Linked DNA regions of Homo sapiens: all the other regions are linked to region 2. The links are contacts of gene promoters, found by promoter capture Hi-C in human tissues and cell types (Jung and others, 2019). All regions are on one chromosome and are shown on one strand. Each heading gives the region's core, a stretch centred on a gene start or on the middle of the fragment in contact. The rest is flanking DNA. Distances are from core to core; before and after follow the strand shown. Region 1 has its middle 69 kb from the start of NOS2. Region 2 holds the start of LGALS9 (galectin 9). Region 3 overlaps KSR1 (kinase suppressor of ras 1).

The links. Contacts are between HindIII fragments. The study calls those that stand out against the background at their distance.
Region 1: a fragment that was not itself captured here is called in contact with the fragment with the promoter of LGALS9 in region 2 in 2 of the 25 tissues and cell types used here (spleen and thymus).
Region 3: a fragment that was not itself captured here is called in contact with the fragment with the promoter of LGALS9 in region 2 in 2 of the 25 tissues and cell types used here (spleen and thymus).

The regions. Positions count from the first base shown.
Region 1 is chr17:27,729,977-27,733,672 of GRCh38, reverse strand. No RefSeq gene overlaps it. Among named protein-coding and RNA genes, the nearest start is that of NOS2, 69 kb to the left of the region's middle. The HindIII fragment of the contact is 5,964 bases long and covers 1-3,696 here.
Region 2 is chr17:27,629,880-27,633,276 of GRCh38, reverse strand. It overlaps LGALS9 (galectin 9), which reads right to left and starts at 2,089. Exons shown (of 11, transcript NM_009587.3): 1 at 1,973-2,089. The coding sequence starts at 2,011. RefSeq lists enhancers at 2,060-2,179, 1,647-2,464. The HindIII fragment of the contact is 14,549 bases long and covers 1-3,397 here.
Region 3 is chr17:27,519,957-27,523,432 of GRCh38, reverse strand. The region is part of intron 1 of KSR1 (kinase suppressor of ras 1); the gene reads right to left. Among named protein-coding and RNA genes, the nearest start is that of KSR1, 65 kb to the right of the region's middle. RefSeq lists an enhancer at 3,285-3,476. The HindIII fragment of the contact is 4,326 bases long and covers 1-3,476 here.

The sequences.
Region 1 (3,696 bases), core at 750-3,249, 100 kb before region 2:
TCATCTAGAGCCTGTAATTAAGAAACAAATATCTGTTTGTCTCAAGACCAATGTAAACTAGCTGAAAACAATAAGCTACATTTCATCACCAGTTATCGTGCTAAGGAATCACTAAAGCCATATCTAAATAATTCTCTTTTTAAAAAATAACTCATTTCCCATCAAAAAATAACTCATTTCCCCCAACACACACACTGCAAATGGCACACATTTGAAGAGTAAACATGTGATTTCAAACATATATCTTAAAGTAATTTAAACCAACAAAATGTAAGAACTCGGCCTAATCACTTAGATAATATCTAATTAGAATCCTCTTTTAAAGCAATAGGAAAGTGAGTAAATAATAAGCAAATAAGAAAGCAAGTAAATGAGAAAACAAATAAGCAAGTATATAATTAATAAGTAAAAATTTAAAAATCAATCCCTTTGCAAGCTGCAATAATTGATGATGTTGTCACTCACCAATCAGACCGTTTACATCAAGCATTGTGGTGAGATAGTCTTTCACTTACAGTTAACCAGAGAGATCCTTAAGATCTATGTCTTACTTATTTCTACATTTCTTATTTAATCTCTTCAATTATGTTAACTGAATACAATTAAGCTGCAGTGGAATACATATATACTGTTTTAGTGCTAAGAGCTTTTTATTTTACAGAGAACATTTGGAAAATACAGGAAAACAAAGATGAAAGGAGAAACCAGCTGTAATCTCTCTTCCATTAACATTGATGTGGTGGCATATTTCCTTTCAGTCTGGGTAGATGAAGGAATATCTTTATTTGCTTTGTTCATGGGTTGTTTAGCACAAACATTTTCATAATCACAGCAAGTTACTGGGAGACAGAAAGTGAAGCAACTGACAGACTCAGATTCCTACTCAGTTCAAGGAAAGAATAAAAAAAAAGGCTAAGCCATTAGCAGTGAGATACTGGAAAATCACTTTTTACTTTTTTAAAAACAAAAATAATTATTTTTGGAACAGTTTTAGTCACATAGAAATATTCAGTAGAAGGTACACACTGTATACCCCTTCTCCTTCACCTGTGATTACCTCTTGCCTTAGTGTGGCACATGTGTTACAACTGATCACCCAGTACCCATAAATTACTAACTAAATGCCATGCTTTAGAGTTGACTCTTTGCATTGCACGATGGTGGGGGTTTTGTCATGGATCCATCCTTGCAGTATCATACAGAAGAGTTTTACTGCCCTAAGTAGCCTGTGATTCACCTATTCGTTTTTCCTCCCTTTCCCATCCTCAACCCAAGAATTGCTGATCTTTTTTCTGTCTCTATAGTTTTTTCTTTTCCAGAATGTCATATAGTTAAAATTATACAACATGTAGCCTTCATAGACTGGCTGCTTTTATGCATTTAAAGTGTCCCCACATCTTTTCTGGGCTTGATAGCTTATTTCTTAGTATGGCTGAATAATATTCCACTGCATGGATGTACCACCATTTGTTTATCCATTCACTTATTTAAGGACATCTTGATTGCTTCCAACTTTTGGCAATTATGAATGAAGCTTCTGTAAAGTGTTAATATACAGGTTTTTGTGTAGACATAAGTTTTCAACTCATTTAGGAAAATCACTAGGAGCATGACTGCTAGAATGTATGGTAAGACCATATTTAGTTTTTTTGTTTGTTTGTTTTGTTTTGTTTTGTTTTCTTGAGATGGAGTCTCACCCTGTCACCCAGGCTGGTGTATAGTGGTGTAATCTTGGCTCACTGAAACCTCCACCTCCAGGGTTCAAACATTTCTCCTGCCTCAGCCTCCTGCGTAGCTGGGATTACAGGTGCTGGCCACCATGCCCAGCTAATTTATGTATTTTTAGTAGAGATGAGTTTCACCATGTTGGCCAGGCTGGTCTTGAACTCCTGACCTTGTGATCTGCCCACCTTGGCCTCCCAAAGTGTTGGGATTACAGGTGTGAGCCACCGTGCCCACCTGTCTGTTCATTCTTAACAGTGTCACTGGCACAGCAGACATGTTTTACTTTAATGAAGTCAATCTTGTCCATTTTCTCTTTTGTAGATGGTGTTTTTGTGTTGTATCTAAAATCTCATTGCCAAACCCAAGGTCACCTAGATTTTCCCCTATGTTATTAAACTCCTAGAAATTTTCTAGTTTTTTGTTTTTCATTTAAGTCTATGACCTGTTTTGAGTTAATTATTGGGAAAGGTGTAAGGTCAGTGTCTATATTCATTATTCCACATGTGGTTGTCTAGTTGTTCCAGCACCATTTGTTGAAAAGACAATTTTTTCTCCATTAAATTGCCTTTGCTCCTCTGCCAAAGATCAGCTGACTCTATTTGTATAGGTCTATTTCTGGGGTGCCTATTCTGTTCCATTGATCTATTTACCTGGTCTTTCACCAATACTTCACTGTCTTAATACATACAGAAGACAATATACACAAAATAGGAAGTCAACTATAAATGAGAAAAAAGTTCTTTATTTTTCTCCCCAAAGTATTTTAACCAAACATTTTGGTGTAAAAAATAAAAATGTCAACAAATGTGCTCAACTATAACAGAAAAAGAAAGCTTACAAGAGAATGTAGAGCTCAGAGTTACTACTTACTGTTCATTAGATAAATGGTTTAAATGGTTTAAATCCTGAAAAACTGCTTGAATCTTAAATAATCTATGAAATATTATGGAAGCATTTTCTAACTTGTTTCTGAAACCTCTGGAAAAAAACTCCTCATGTATTAATACAAGCTAAACTTCTTTAGAGAAATAAAAAGAAAACTATACATTTCATGACATGTATACATTTTTCTTTCACATACTTGTAACTCAAAAAACCATGCTTTCACAAATATAATAATAGAAATACAATAATATTAGCAATCATAACATCCATGAAACTGTAAAGAATAAACTGGCCAGATGCTGTCTCTTACACCTGAGAACCCAGGTTCTGGTCAAGGCTTCTCTTGGTTGTATGAACTCACCTCATGGACCTGTCATAAGGCTCAAAAGAGATACTGTAAACAAAAGCATCCTGTAAACTGTAAAAGCCTATAGATACGTGGTTCATCTAAATCCAGGCAGTTTAACGACTGATAGCTGCCCCCGCAGAACCTCCTTTCTCGATTCTTAAACAAATTATATTTCCAAGTCCAGTTCAAAAGTTATATTCTTGGAAATCTCCACATCCCACCTGTCCACCAAGGCAGAACAAATCCATCTACTACACTCTAGTATTATGCTCTCATAACTCTTGGCTCTTTACCAGTTCATTTAAAGGTATAATGAGCATTTAAAAATATGTCAGGCATCATGCTATCCACTGGAGAAAAGAATCTTAAATGTGTAAGGCTTACAAAGTTTTTTTCACATACATTATCTCATTTCATACTTTAAAAATATCCCATAGGATCATAATTATTTGTTTATAATTTCTCTAACCAGAATGAATTCCCAGTGGTTAGAGACTAAGTGTGATTCATCTTTGACTCCCCAGAGTCTAGTGCAGTGCCTAGCACACAGAAGACACTCATTAAGTGCTTGATAAATTAATGAATAAAGGAGTAACAGACACTTGTTTGATTAGTAAAATATCAGTCAGGGTTAACACTGAAATAATCTTTCCATAAAGTTTTCACAGGGGAAAGGGGAAAAATACATTCTATTATACAAACACATCAGGGGAGTGAAAATTCTTCCATATAGCAGA
Region 2 (3,397 bases), core at 840-3,339:
GACTAGGAACATTTATCCTCACAGCAACCCCGGCCACTTTTACAGATGAGGAAACTGAGGCACAGAAAAGTTCAGTCACTTGCTCAAAGTTACACAACTGGTCAGCAACAGAGCTGGGATTTGAACCCCAGCACCCACGCTTCTAACCACCACACAGGCTTCCTCTCATGAGTAAGCTGAGAACATCCTTATTCCTGGCTCTCCCAGTGCTTCCTGGACCACACAGCACGTGGTTCCAGCTTCCCCCAGGCCCTCCAAAGAGGCTGGGCTAGATGAGGCCAGACAAGAAGTGGGAGTGAGGTTTCCAAGCCAGGCCCTCATGGCACTCAGCCCTCCTCAGCAGGACAGCGAACCGCGTGACCTTCCCCCACTGTCGGCATGTGGAGGAAGCGTGGCTCCGACTGCCAGATGGGTCACCAAGTGAGGCTTAATTGTCCCAACCCAGGGGAGCCCCCGTGGGGTAGAGGGGTACTCTGGACACCCATAGGGGCTGCACTGATCATCTTTCTTGTCTGGACTCCAAGGCCCTGTTTTAACTCTCTGATGTCCGTAGGATAATTTTCCTTCTGAATCCAAGGATTAGAAAGTAAAAACCAGTCACCAGAATAATAATATGTCAGAACCTGGAAGAAGCTCTGGGATCCCCTCTTTGACAGAAAACCAGAGACAGGGTGACATGCCCAAGGCAGCACCTGCTGACCCTAAGGCCCCCACCAGCGGCCTGTTCCAGCTTCCCCCAGCCCCCTCTGTGCAGGTCCTACCTCAGGGGCCTCCACAGGGTGGCTGAGGTGTCATTGGTGACAGCCAGGAGGAAACAGGCCTCCTTTCCCCATTCTTTCTCTCTGGAGTTTAGAAAGCAGAGCCGAGCTCTGCAGACCAGAACGTAGGCAGCCTCATTCTGGACTCAGTGTCACCAGGGGGCACTCAAGCCCGACCCTGGCCTCTGCTGAGGTGGGCCATGGCAGCTTCCCTCCCTCAGTACCCTGCCTCTGCCCACCCTCCCCACCCTGCCTCCCCACCCAGGAAGGACCCATCAGCCCACCCTCTCCAGCCCCTCGGGAAGCTCTTTGCCAAGGCGGGGTGAGATCCTATGACAGGAGCCGGCCCAGGACACAGTGACCCCTGAAGTCTCCTGGGCTCCTGGGGCTGCCACTCCCATCTGGAGGCATTTGGCAACTGGCCTCTGCCTCCCTGAGCCTCAGATTTTCCGTGTATGAAGGGGACTCATAAACCTCACAGGGTTTCAGCAAGGCACCTGCCGCCCTCTGACCCCACGCTGCAGGGACAGTCCTCACCCCCCTCTCACCTCTGAGACTGCCCCTCCACAGATGCCCTGAACATGCCCATGCCCAACCTTCAGAGCACAGACACCTCCTCGGGAGGTCTTCCCTGCTGCCCTCAGACACCCAATAACATGAAACACTCCCAAAGCACCTACAGTGTGTCAGGCACTGTTCAAACACACTAGATACACTACTTCCTTAATCCATATCCCAACCCTGGGAGTGGGGGGCTCAAGTATTATTCCCACTTCACAGATATGGAAACTGAGGCCCAGAGACCACCAGCCAGTAAATAGCTGGACCCAGGGAGGCCACCTTCACAGTAAGCACCCTTAACTACCATGCCGGGTAGCGTCCTTACTGTCCCAGAAGCGTGCTTGCTTCCTCTTTACATGAACCACCCCGCTCTACATGTCTTCCCCTGAGCACACAGGACAGGACAGGACAGGACAGCTCAGTCAACACTGTCAAAGCCATGACTCGTGGGAAGGAGCATCCCTCCAGGCATGAGTGAGCTCAGCACGGCACAGGTGTGCCAGGATGACCTCCTCTGATATTTCTGCCCTGCTTGTGTTCTCTTTGGGATGCCCCCACCCCCATCCCCTGCCACCCAGGAGTTGCTTCCTCAGAGCCCCAGAGCTGTGTCCCTCTGGCTGAGGCAGCCCTGTGCCCATAGCCCTGGAACTCACTGGACTCAGGTAGGGAGCCTGGGAACCGCTGAAGGCCATCTCTCCGCCGCCTCTGTGGCCACCGCTGCCTTTCACACCCACTAGGAAGTCCTTTGTAGAGGGAACGACTTAACAAAGAAATAGAAACCAAAGCAACTTGGCTGTTATTCAATGGGGAGGAGCCGGCAGCAAAAGGAAGTGGGTCCAGAGAGAGAAAGGTATGGTACTGGGTGGACTGGGGTGACACTCACAGAGGGAAGTAGGCACTCCCAGCCCCAGTGACCTTTCCCTCCTCCCTCTCCTGTGCTCAACCCAAGCCTGAAGCATATTTGGTTCATAGAGGTCTACAATGCTTGACCACACTGACATGACAGCAAGTTGCCAGATGACACTGCCCAGAAGTATGTGGCTGTGTGTCCTAAGCATGCTTGGCCACGGAGTCCAGAAAATAATGGGGCTGGGCATTGCCTGTGCACAGGGTGCTTGTGGGGAAGGGCGGCTTCAACCCATTTTACATACAGAGAAGCTGAGGCTCAGAGTCTAAGGGGCATGCCCCAGGTCACACAGCTAATTCGTGGCCGCCTGAACTTTATGAAGATTCTCAGACTCTTCAAAAAGTATTTCTCCTGTTTAAATTTATATTATTCATGTAAAAACATAATTATGTAGAGGGGAATATTTTGCAAGAAAAACACCATAATGAATATTTTTATTCTACAGTATGGGGTGCCCAGGAGCTTCTGATCCTCCCTCTCAATGAATCTCTCTTGATTCTCTTCTCCTTCTCTTCTCCATCCTTATTTTCTGCACTTTAGGATGAGGAGAGAAGTCTTGGACATGATAGAACATTTCAAGTGACATGGGGCTGGGAAGGAACATATGGCATGTGCAGGTCGTGGGGGAGGGAGCCATGAAATAAACTTACCTGAAGTCGACCAGGTCCCAGCGATGTGCTGGTGAGAAGGCCCAGAACTCAAGCTGGGTAGGGTAAGTGCTGGCAGGTAAGGGCTGTACGGGTGCGAGAGGATGGCAGGTGCCCCAGGGCCATACGTGAGTCTGCACCTCTCTTCCTTCCTGTGCTCCACCTAGATGCACTAGAATTTGCAGACTAATTCCTTTGAGATGCTCCAATAGACTGAGGCCATGTGTGCCATCTGCACTGTCCATCCCCATTATGTTCCTGGATCAAGTACCAGTTTAAGGAGTAGACAGTACAAGGGGAGCAGAAAGGAGAGAAAGGAAGGGAAATTCTTTGCGATCCTCTCGGACACCAGGGACAATTTCATCACGGCACATCATTTGTAGGCAATCACAAATTGATTGCGATACGCAACAACTGGAACTCTCATTCACAGCAGACTGGAGTGTAAAATAATCCAACTTAGAAAAATGGGCAGGGCGTGGTGGCTTATGCCTATAATACCAGCACTTTGAGAGGCTGAGGCA
Region 3 (3,476 bases), core at 445-2,944, 110 kb after region 2:
ATAATTCAAACACACAAAAATGGTATCTTTCCTTTTTTTTTTTTTTTAACCTTACAGAAATGGTATCATTACTACAGATATTCTGCAACCTTTCTACCAACGTTTTTCTTAAATGTAGTCGGGCTGATTCATGTAAGTCAGATGGAACTGGTGAAAAGTACTACACTGTGTAAACCGTCATTTATTGATATATTTCCTGGCTAATAGGCTTTTAGTTTCCTTCTAGTTTTTCATCATCACCAAAAATGTTACAATGTACATCTATTTCTCCTTGAGCACTTGCATGCTAGTTTTTCCAGTACAGACAATAGAAGTAAAATTTTTGGCTATAGGGTATGTGTATCCCTAACTTCACCACATCTAGTCAAGTTCTCTTGAGAGTAGTTGTACCAATTTACACTCCCCAGGGCCCTGTGTGAGAGAGGAGGCCCCTCCCCATGCTGTATTTCTAAACTGCCAATTTCTACCTAACATGATGGTAGCAGGATCCTTTTTTTCTTTCTTAGTACCCTGAACTAGCTACAGCAGAAACACAGGAATCCCCTGAGCTACTCTCCCCAAAATGTTGTCTGGCTGCTGCCTGAGGACAGACCACCCTGCAAAAAGCAACCTAGCTGGGCAGCCAGCATTCAGAGTGGTGCACCCATTGCTTTCTATCTATGGTGTCTCCTCTTGCAAGACAGAGACTTTCCCTCATTGCAAACTTGCTGGGGGGTTGGTGGATTAGTCCTTTGCATTCACCACCCCTCAAATTATTTCATATCCAGCCTACTCACTCAAGCCCTCTCCAATACCAACCAGAAAAGGACAATGTGAAGGTGTTTGTCCCACCACAAAGCCCTCCCACTTTTCCCTGGAGCTCTCAGGCAGGCTGCTGAAAAGAACATCTCATCTCTGCTGGAAAGAAACACCTCATCTCTGGTGGTGGCTCATGAGCATCTCCTGATAAAGGAAAATCCCAGGCAGAGAGAGGGGCCAAGTTGTTTATTTCCAAACACAAGCCAGATTCCAGCTGTGACATGTATACTGGATCTGCTCACTGCAAAGGCGAGCTGGGCGGGAGGGCCACGGGGAGCGGGGGCCAAAGCTGTGTGGAGGATTGCGTGGTTGTTTAGTTTCAAGTAAGCCAGTATTCCTAGGATCAAGTTCATAGCCCCTTCTCAGTCCTGTTTTTCCTGACTCTGCCTGTCTATGGATTTTTCATGTCAACTTGCCCCAAGTGCAAAGGGTAGTTGCCTTGACCCACTTAACCCAGGGGCTCAGAGAGACACTCCACCGGGCTCAAGGCTGGGGTCTGGTATCCACCTTTCCACTCCACAACATTTATTGAAAGCTTGCTCTGGCCAGGTACCAGTGTATAAGAATGGCTGTAACAAAAACCCAGCCATTATCCAGAACTTGACCTCTGAGAACTCATGGCCTAGAAAATAAATACTTGTGATGTCATGTGAAAAGATGCAATGGTAAATATGTGCAAGAGAAAGGAAAGAACAGAGAAAGTAAACCTAACTAAGCCTGGTCTCCCTAGCAGCATGGGTGATAAGCAGACATTTTTATCATCAACATCATAATTCCAACTGCCTGCCTTTCCCATAGCCATGAGAGTGTGGATTAACAGGGCAACAGGTGGTGCTTTGGGAGCTCAGACGTCAGGAGACCTGGTTCTAACCCACCTGCCTCCATCAGAGTAGCCTTTGCAGGCCAGGCGTGGTGGCTCACACCTGCAATCCCCACGCTTTGAGAGCCTAAGGCAGGTGGATCACTTGAGCCTAGGGAGTTTGAGACCAGCCTGGGCAACACAGTGAGACCCTATCTCTACAAAAAAATTCAAAAACTAGCCAGGCGTGGTGGCTCATGTCTGTGATCCTAGCTACTCAAGAGGCTGAGGCAAGAGGCTTGCCTGAGCCCGGGAAGTCAGGGCTCCAGTGAGCTACTGCACTCCAACGTGGGCAATGGAGCTAGACCCTGTGATCCTAGCTACTCAAGAGGCTGAGGCAAGAGGCTTGCCTGAGCCCAGGAAGTCGGGGCTCCAGTGAGCTACTGCACTCCAACCTGGGCAATGGAGCTAGACCCTGTTTCAAAAAAAAAAAAAAAAAAAGGAATGGCCTTTGTCAACTCACTGTCCTCATGGGTAAACTGAAGGGTGGAACAAGCAACTCCTGAGCAGTCCTTTCAGCTTGGGTATCCTAACCAGGGGCTTTCCACCCTCCCTGTGTATCAGAATCACTTGGAGCGGGTATACATATAGAGATGCCTGGGCCAGTTCCCACCCCAGAGGTACTAAGTCAGCTGGCCCAGGGCTGTGCTCCTGATATGGATGTGTTTTAAAAGCACCCATGATTCAAACATGAGGACAGGGTTCAGAACCACGGTGCTGAACAAACTTCCTGCTGGTGACAGCCACAAGTGCTTGAGGACCGGGCCCCATTCCACAGACTGCCCAAGGCAGGAAGCGAACCCAAGGCCAAACAGCCCATAGTGCCTGCTGTCTGCTCACAGGGATACAATGATTTCAGGAAGATTCCAGTTAGGCCAACTGGCAAACAGGGAATCACACGTCTCCCGCATCCTCCAGCTACCTGCTTTCAGCCCCTTTTGGCCACTGGGACAAATGGGTAAGGGGGAAGGCAGCACCCCTCCAATCCACTGGCAGGGGGCCGCCCCACCCTCGGGAAAAGGAGGCCAGTGAGAGTTGGAGGCAGCGGGGCCTGGGAAACCTGGGCGGGCACAGCCTGGCCTCCCTGCCTGTGAGCCAGCCCCTGAGAGGCCTCGTCCGGACAAAGGGGCAGAAGAACAAAGCTCCACTGTGCCCGTTCTGCACGGAAAAGCCAGCAGAGACAAGGAGACTTCAGGGCTGGTGGCACGATTAGCATTTTATTTATTTATTTAATTTTCGTTTTATCTAACAAATGCCTTGGGGACACAACACTTATTATGCGCACCAAGCAGAGTTTCTGAGCCCTTTCTAAAGATTAAGCTTTAGAAGATTAAGCTTTCCAGAGTTAAAGTCCAGGGAGGGGAAAAAATTAATTCTCCCCCTCCACAGGCACATAAATTTACCTTTGCATTTGCTACTGTCTGGCCTATAACATACAGAAACCACTTGGATCTAGGAATGTGTCCCAAGGTGTGACTTAAATCCCTTCGGTGCCCTTTATAGAAGGCCATCTTCTGCAGGAATGGAAATTTTCTCATGGCAAGGTGGAAAGAATTTGGAAGTTAAACTCCATTTGCTACATGAACTTGGACAAGTTTCAGAAACTCTCCGAAACTCATTTTGGTGTCTGTCAAATGGGAACAGTGTAGCCTATTTCAGAGGTGTTATGGAGTGAAATGAAATAATTCATTCGGTATAAAGGGTGCAACAAAGGGCCTGACATCAGCTACAGGTTTATTCCCTTCTCCCATCTGCAAAGCACCACCTCTGCCATTTACAGAGACTCTGCTGCACTGAGTACCCATGGTCTAACAGCAGC